Regions from separate parts of the Homo sapiens genome. Here all the other regions are linked to region 1. The links are contacts of gene promoters, found by promoter capture Hi-C in human tissues and cell types (Jung and others, 2019). All regions are on one chromosome and are shown on one strand. The core of a region is centred on a gene start or on the middle of the fragment in contact, and the rest is flanking DNA. Distances in the headings are between cores, read along the strand shown. Region 1 holds the start of ZNF852 (zinc finger protein 852). Region 2 overlaps TCAIM (T cell activation inhibitor, mitochondrial). Region 3 overlaps TOPAZ1 (testis and ovary specific TOPAZ 1).

Region 1 (2,805 bases), core at 106-2,605:
AAGAATCTGCCCTGAAAAACACTTGCACGGGTATTCAGACATTTACACAGGTATTTACTAAAATATTCTCTGTAATAACATAATACTGGATTTAACCTACTTGTCCATCAATATGGCTAAATAAAAGTAGCATTTTTATAGGATGAAATACCATACAGCACCTAAAAGGAACATACTAGATCCTTATGCATCACCATGACTGTTCCACTATTCACCAGGTGGCCAGGCTGTGCTGCCAAGATTAAAAGGCCATCCAAGGAAGGGATAGCACATGATTTGAGGTCGCTGAGGACAGATACCAACCACATCAGGCCCCAAGAGGTACAGCGTATACTTACAGCAAAAGGAGAAACAGGGAACAAGATCCAGCCTCCTGCAATGCAAAGAGCCCCCACACCCAGCAGATCCACTCCACAGCTATAGGGCTGGTGTGATGCACACACCCCACTTAGTAAGGAAGAAAGATCTCAATCCACCCTCCCCACTCCTATGGGGTGTGAAATACAGAAGGCTGAGAGAATGAATGAAGGCCACTGACTTAAGAGATTAAACACAACAAAGGAGTACACATGAAGCCTGAAACACTGAAAGACACAAGGCATTAAATGCAGCAGCACAGGCTGTGAGGGCTCTAACTCTGCAAGGAAATGTTCCAGGCTCAAGGTCACTCTTACATTCTTAACTTGGCAATGGGCTATTTAAAAAAAAAAAAAAGACATTAAAAACTGTCAATTCTTCTTGTCTCCCAGTTTAGATATTCCTTCTTTCATTAATTTAACAAACACCTTCTAGGAGCACCTACTATTTCCCATACACTAAGGTAACAGCAGTTAATAAAGCAAACAGAAAGCACTGCCCTGGCAAGGGGCTTATGGGAAGATAACCAATAAACAAATACATGCTATGTTAGACGGCGACAGGTGCCAGGAAGTGAAATAAGACAAGAAAAAGGGAGAAGTCTATGCCAGATGTTTTCAATGTCAGGAGACCTGGAGACTAAGATTTCCGGACGGTGGCTACTTTCACTTTTCTTCCACTTATCTAATTGTCTCTAATAAGTACGCTTTATTCGCATAATTGGGTGAAAAGATAAAGCCAGAAGAAACCGGGAATTTTCCAGATTCTCTGCCCCAGACGCCCGGGGGGCGAAGAGGTATGCCCTCGGCGCGGCCGGGCGGGATCCACGGCCAGACCCCCGCCCCGGGTGCAGCCTCCAGGCCCGGCCTCACCTGCCACTCTCGCACGCACAGCCGCCCCCGCTCCGCACCCCGCGCCCCGCCGGGCCGCTCACCGACTCCGCCGCCGAGAGACAATCATCCAAACGCCGCCACCGCAGCCGACCGCCCCGCGCCTACCTCCCAGCTTCCCCAGTTGCGCACGCGCGTCGCCTCCCCGGGCCCTCTGCGGCCTCTCTAGGAAACTGGGAGGGCCAACATCTCTGCTTCTCCCTGGGCCCAGGGCCGCTGGCGGCGGGCGGCGGGCGGCGGGCGGCGGGCGGCGGGCGGCGGGCGGCGGGGCTTGTCCAGCATCCTTCGCCTCCTTCCGCGGACACTTGTCTTCCACGCTCTGATGCCCAGGCGCGCTCCAGAACTCTATCGGCTTTGGCGTATTATCCTACATCCCTCCCATCGGTTCTGCACGGCTGCCCTGGAGGCCTCTTTTCCTTCAGGGAAGAAAGGGATCCAAAGCTAGCGGTGAAAATAGAGCCAGCGGCCTGGCGCGGTGGCTCACGCCTGTAATCCCAGAACTTTGGGAAGCCGAGGTGGGCGGATCACGAGGTCAGGAGATCGGTGGCTAACACGGTGAAACCCCGTGTCTACTAAAAATAAAAAAAAAGTAGCTGGGTGTGGTGGCGCGGCGCCTGTAATCGCAGCTACTTCGGCGGCTGAGGCAGGAGAATCGTTTGAACCTGGGAGGCGGAGGTTGCAGTGAGCCGAGATCGTGCCACTGCACTCCAGCCTGGGAGACAGAGCCAGACTCCGTCTCAAAAAACAAACAAACAAAAAAATAGGGCCAGCACATCCCCAAACATAAAACCCTTGAATGGAGAAATTCCCAAACAAGGCAATAAGCCCAGCACTGGCCGTGAGAGTTTATTATCCCCTTTTAAGTAAATGCTACAAGCCCTAGGCGCACTTTTGCAACTGTTCAAGGGTCATCAGGCTGCACATGACTGACCAAGACACTCAGTTGCCCACTTTGGATGGAGCTACAGCTTTGTGGGAAAAACAGATAATAGAAATTACACAAATACATCAATGTCAAGTGGTTACGAACACTGTTGAAATGTAACAGAGTTATTTAATTGACAGCGACTGATGATAATGCTTGTATTTTTTCTGGTACTTTTCTGTATACTTCCGGTAGCTCATAACACACTGGCTGCCATGCATTGATTTGAGTTGCCCAAGGAAATAGAGTCAGTAACTGGAATAGCCACTGAATCCAAATCTTTTGGTCTTTTCACTACTGTGCTTCATAAAAGCTCTCCCGTCCCACGTCCCTGTAGAGGGAGAGTTGGGGATAGCATGGCTCCTAGCTGAGATCCCAGAAGCTAGGGGTAGAAGGTTGTGGGCAGGATAGTGAGGAGGGCAAGATTCCAAGGAAAACTAAAATCCCTGCCCAGGAACGGTTACCACCTGGGAAAGCAGGAATGACCCAACGCATCAAGGCCCAGAGTGTACTCAAAGAACAACAGGTTAGGATGAGGGTCAAAACTCAGACCAGAAAGAGCATTAGCTGAGCTTGGTGGTGCACGCCTGTAGTCCTAGCTACTGTGGAGGCAGAGGCGGAAGGATCGCTTGG
Region 2 (2,700 bases), core at 2-2,501, 150 kb before region 1:
TGAAAATTAGAACATCGTTATTTTTTTCTACTTGCAATGGAAAATCTATTTTGCTTTTTTGCTTCTAGGAAAATATTCTGATTATGATATGTGATATGTTGGCTACTCAAAGTCAGAACTTTTCAAAGTAATCAGTAAATTGAATCAACAGAAAAATATTCATTAACTCGGGGATGCATTAATAAAGTTTTTAAATTCAAAATGTATAGAAAAATCAAGCTTAGTAATACTTTAATATTATTCTACCAATGTATTTTTTTTAATTAAGACTTCTGTATGCAGCAGGGCATGGTGGCACACCTGTAGTCCCAGCTACTAGGGAGGCTGAGGCAGGAGGATTACTTGAGCCCAGGAATTCAAGCCTGGGCAACATAGTGAGTCCTCATCTCCTAAATTTAAAAAACAAACAACAAAAACTTCTACGTGTGGTAAAGGGTTAACTCAGCAAGCTTGGGTTGCTTAAACCTTGCACATTCCAAAGAAAGGTCTGACCCCAGTGCTGACCTTTGACTGGCTACTGGGAAATGAGCTCTGAGCCCCTGGATAGGAATGTTTCTGTTTGCCTGAGGCCTTTGACCATGCCAGATAGTTTATGCTAACAATGTGATTTATAGTGAATACCTGTTTTCCTGTGTCTAAGACCCTGGGCTGCACTGTATTAATTTGACCTTGGGTATTTGGGGAGCTGAGACTGAGTAGCTGAAGTGAGTCACATAAGCACTAAATGCTTACCTGACTGACCCCCAGTAAAACTCTGGACATCCAGACTTGGATGAGCTTCCTTGGGTGGCAACACTTTTACGTATTGTCACACACCATTGCTGGGGGGATTAAGCACTGTCTGTAAAACTCCACTGTGAAATGACAACTGGAAACTTGCACGTGGTCTCTCCTGATTCTGCTCTATTCACCTTTTCCCTTTGCTGATTTTAATCTCCATTCTTTTGTTGTAATAAACCATAATGGTGAATAAAACAGCTTGTCTGAGTTCTGTGAATCCTTCTAGTAAATCGTTGAACCTGAGAGTGGTCTTGGGGACCCCTGACACAATGTGCCTAGAGTTTAATGGTTCTGATAAGTTTACATTTTCGTGTTATCTTTAACTTGTATTTATTGACTCCTCCTTTGTGTCAAGCCCTTGCCCTAGCTGCTGCCTCTGTTTAGAGCATCCTTTTCCCAGATATCCCAGATATGGCTTGTCCTTTACTTTCTCACCTTTCAGTGAGGCTCTCCCAGACTACACTATTACTTGTGTTTGTTTTGTTTTGTTTTGTTTTTAAAACTACCCTATTTTAAATTGCCATCTCTGCTTTCCTTCCTAGCATTCCGTCCCCTCTTTACCCTGCAGTACTTGTTTTTTTTTCCTTTCCATGTACCCTATTTCCTTATTTGTGAGGTTTGTTGTTTATTTTTCTCCCCTCACTAAAATGCAAGCTCCATGAAGACTGTTCACTCTTCTTGTCACTCTTCTTGCCACCACATGTTCAGTTCAGTCTTCTTCCTACTATTAGAGAACACCCTTGCCCCTTTTCTTAGGAAGAGTGGCTTAAAGTCCCATCTATTCATAGCATCGAACTCAAAGTCCAGGGTTTCCCAGTGATGCACAGGATTTTTGGGTTTTTTAAAAAATCCTCTTTAATTTAATTTAAAAATCTGCAAAACATTGTGGGTTTAAAAAAAAAATCAAAACTAAATACAAAGTTTAATGAGAAGTCTCATTCCTATATTCCTGTTTCGTTTACCCAGTTCCTATTCACTTCCTATATATAATCTTTTTTTTTTTTTAATTTTTTTGGAGACAGAGTCTTGCTCTGTCACCCAGGCGGGGAGTGTGGTGGCACCATCAAGGGGCTCACTGCAGCCTCGAACTCCTGGGCTTAAGTGATCCTCCTACCTCAGCCTCCTGAGTAGCTGGGACCACAAGCATGTACCACCGTGCCCAACTAATTTTTGTATTTTTTGTAGAGTCGAGGTTTCACCATGCTGCCCGGGCTGTTCTCAAACTCCTGAGTTCAGGCAATCTGCCTACCTCAGCCTCCCAAAAACTGCTGGGATTATAGACATGAGCCACCACGTCCAGCCTTCTTGTGTTGCTTTTCAGCAAAAATAGAAATATTTATCAAAAAATAATGATGAAGATTTAGTCTTACACTGGCAATAATTATCCCACACTTGCCTGCAGGACTCATATGGCTAAGAACATCATATTAGAATAAATTAAACAAACAATCATTTATTACTTTGGGATATTTAGTCATTGGCATTTTCTACATTTAGGTTATAAAGGAATTCAACCATGTTTTCTTCTATTACTTATATGGTTACATCTTTTTACATCTTACCCATATGGAGTTCATTCTGTTACATGTTGTGAGATGTAGATCCAATTTTATCTTTTACCAAAGAGCTATGAAATCCCAACATTTTTAAATACTAAATTATTTAATACTCTCAATGTGTTTAAAAGGTTAGATAGATATCATTTCTGATATTTCCTTGTTCTATTTTGTATGTAAATGCCCTTAATGTTTTTTTCCAGGAAATCAATGAAAATTCTCTTAAAAGGTTAAGTGTCTACCTAGAAAACCTCCAGAAACCAGGCTTCAAGTCTTTGAAACCAACTCAGCTTACATTTTATGTAAGAGAAACAGACCAGAGTTCCTCCGATGGCCAGGAACCTTTTAGTACTTCCGGTACGTT
Region 3 (2,982 bases), core at 477-2,976, 210 kb before region 1:
ATCATCATTCTCAGTAAACTATCGCAAGAACAAAAAACCAAACACCGCATATTCTCACTCATAGGTGGGAATTGAACAATGAGAACACATGGACACAGGAAGAGGAACATCACACTCTGGGGACTGTTGTGGGGTGGGGGGAGGGGGAAGCAATAGCTTTAGGAGATATACCTAATGCTAAATGATGAGTTAATGGGTGCAGCACACCAGCATGGCACATGTATACATATGTAACTAACCTGCACATTGTGCACATGTACCCTAAAACTTAAAGTATAATAATAATAAAATAAATAAATAAATAAAAAATAAAAAAAAAGAAAATGAGAGCTGGGTGCCATGGCTTACATCTGTAATCCCAGCACTTTGGGAGGCCGAGGTGGGCAGATCACTTGAGGTCAGGAGTTTGAGACCAGCCTGGCCAACATGGTAAAACCCCATCTCTACTAAAAATAACAAAAATTACCCAGGCATGGTGGTACATGCCTGTAGTCCCAGCTACTCAGGAGGCTGAGGCTCCAAGAGAATCACTTGAACCCAGGTTGTAGTGAACTGAGATCGTGCCACTGCACTCCAGCTTGGGCGACAGAGTGAGACGTCTTAAAAAAAAAGAAAGAAAAGAAAATGGGCTAAAGACATAAACATGTTTCACCAATGAGGATATGCAGATGGCAACTAAGCACATGAAAATAAGTTCAACATTGTTAGCCATAAGAGAAATGTAAAATAAAACTATATGAGATATCACCACACACCTATCAGAATAACAGAATTTTTTTTTAAATATTGTTAACACCAAATGCTGGGGAGAGTGTGGATAAACTGGATCATATGCTGTTAGTGAGAATATAAAATGGTACAGCCACTCTGAAAAGCAGTTTGACAGTTTCTCTACAAACTAAACATGCACATCCCAAAGGCAGCTGTTGAACTCCTGGGCATTTATCCTAGAGAAATGAAAACTTTTGGTCACATAAAAACTTACACGTAAATGTTCTTAGCAGCTTTAATTGTAATAACCAGAAACTGGAAAAAAAAAAAAAAACTCAGATACCCTTCAATAGGTGAATGAGTAGTTATAGTTAAACTGTGGTACATACCATGGCATACTATTCAGGAAAAAGAGGGAGAAACTATGAAATGTGCAACAAATTGGATTGATCTCAAGGGAATTGTGTTGAATTTTAAAAGCTAATCTCAAAAGGCTACATGCTACACAGTGCATACATTTCATTTATGTAATATTCCCGAGATAACAAAACTAAGAAATGGAGAACTGATTAGTGGTTGCCAGGGGACAGGGACAGTGGAGAGGGGATGAGTATAAAAGGGTATCATGAGAAAGTTCCTTTGTAGAAATGGAACAGTTGCAGTTACATACACACACACAAATACATGTAAAAATTGATAAAAACTGAATAAGGCCTGTAGTTAACAATATTGTACCAGTGTCAGTTTCCTGGTGGTATATAAGATGTCACTATTGGAAAAAGCTGGGTGAAGAGTGCACAGTGTACTATTTTTGGAAATTCCTGTGAGCTTATTTAAAAGTCAAAAAATTGTGAAGATAAGTATATAACTTATAACTTTTAAAGATAAGTATATATAACTTTTGTTAGGTATTGCCAAATTTTCCTCCAGAATACTTGTACCCATTTGTGTTCCCATCAGAAATATGAGACTGCCTATTTCAGCCTAGCTTTCTAACATAATGTGTTAGAATGTTTTTCAATGTTTGCCAATCTATTAGATGACAAATGGTGTTTTAGTTTGCATTTCTCTCATGAATGAATTTGAGCATTTTCTGTTCGTATATTTGAGGGCTATTTTTACATGTTTTATGTGAACTCTTCACTCTTTTTCCCCTTTTTCTATTAGGTTTTGGTTTTTTGGTTCTTAAACTTTTAGAGTTCTTGATATATTACAGGTATTAGGCCTTTGTAGTATATATTAGTATATATTGCAATTTTTCTTCCAGTTTGTCAGTTGTCTTTTGACCTTCTGGTGTTTTTTACCATGCAAAAAGTTTTATTTTTATGCAACCTTATATTTCAATCTTTTTTCTCAGTTTTGAGTCAAGGTTATGTTTTATTGCATGTGGTTTTGAGTCATCATTTCTCTACATGAAGGTTTTAGGCAAACTGGCACGTTTTCTTTTACTATTTGTATGACTTCATTTTTACAGTTAGGTTTTTAATCTACGTGGAGTTTTTTCTCTTAGGTATGTTATGTGAAATGGATTCAGTTTTATCTTTTCCAAATGATTATACAACTTTTCCAACAACATGTATTAAAATATCCATCTTGGCTGGGCGTGGTGGCTCACACCTGTAATCCCAGCACTTTGGGAGGCCGAGGTGGGCAGATCACGAGGTCAGGAGATAGAGACCATTCTGGCTAACATGGTGAAGCCCCGTCTCTACTAAAAATACAAAAAACTAGCCGGGTGTGGTGGCGGGCACCTGTAGTCCCAGCTTCTCGGGAGGCTGAGGTAGGAGAATGGCGTGAACCCAGAAGGCGGAGCTTGCAGTGAGCCGAGATAGCACCACTGCACTCCAGCCTGGGTGACAGAGCAAGACTCCATCTCAGAAAATAATAATGGTAAAATAAAATGTCCATCTTTACCTCCAGTGATTTGAGATGCCACCTTCATCGTATACTAAATTTCATATACAATGGGGTCTGTTTCTTGACTTTGTATTTTATTCCACTGGACTGTTTGCCTATTCCTGCACTGGAACCACACTATAGTAACTGTAGAAGCTTTAATAGTATGTTTTAATTTTTGGTAGGGATAATTCTTTTTCATAGTTTTTCAGTGTTTTCCTGGATCTTCTTGGATGTACGCTTCTCCATATATTTAGTATCAACTTCCTAACTCCGTGTAGTAGTAATGTGTCTTTCAGGAGTGTTTTATAATTTTCTTTGTATAAGTACTTAATATTTTGGGTGCTATTGTGAATGAGGTTTTCTGTATTATTA

What was found. Contacts are between HindIII fragments. The study calls those that stand out against the background at their distance.
Region 2: a fragment that was not itself captured here is called in contact with the fragment with the promoter of ZNF852 in region 1 in 1 of the 25 tissues and cell types used here (liver).
Region 3: a fragment that was not itself captured here is called in contact with the fragment with the promoter of ZNF852 in region 1 in 1 of the 25 tissues and cell types used here (mesenchymal stem cells).

The regions. Positions count from the first base shown.
Region 1 is chr3:44,509,262-44,512,066 of GRCh38, forward strand. ZNF852 (zinc finger protein 852) reads right to left here and starts at 1,356. Exons shown (of 4, transcript NM_001423469.1): 1 at 1,292-1,356. RefSeq lists enhancers at 739-1,515, 1,516-2,292, 1,751-1,810 and silencers at 1,121-1,280, 1,291-1,350, 1,481-1,530. The HindIII fragment of the contact is 21,843 bases long and covers 1-2,805 here.
Region 2 is chr3:44,358,826-44,361,525 of GRCh38, forward strand. It overlaps TCAIM (T cell activation inhibitor, mitochondrial), which reads left to right. Exons shown (of 11, transcript NM_173826.4): 4 at 2,540-2,693. Among named protein-coding and RNA genes, the nearest start is that of TCAIM, 21 kb to the left of the region's middle. The HindIII fragment of the contact is 4,576 bases long and covers 1-2,700 here.
Region 3 is chr3:44,299,823-44,302,804 of GRCh38, forward strand. All of the region lies in intron 12 of TOPAZ1 (testis and ovary specific TOPAZ 1), which reads left to right. Among named protein-coding and RNA genes, the nearest start is that of TCAIM, 37 kb to the right of the region's middle. The HindIII fragment of the contact is 3,841 bases long and covers 1-2,982 here.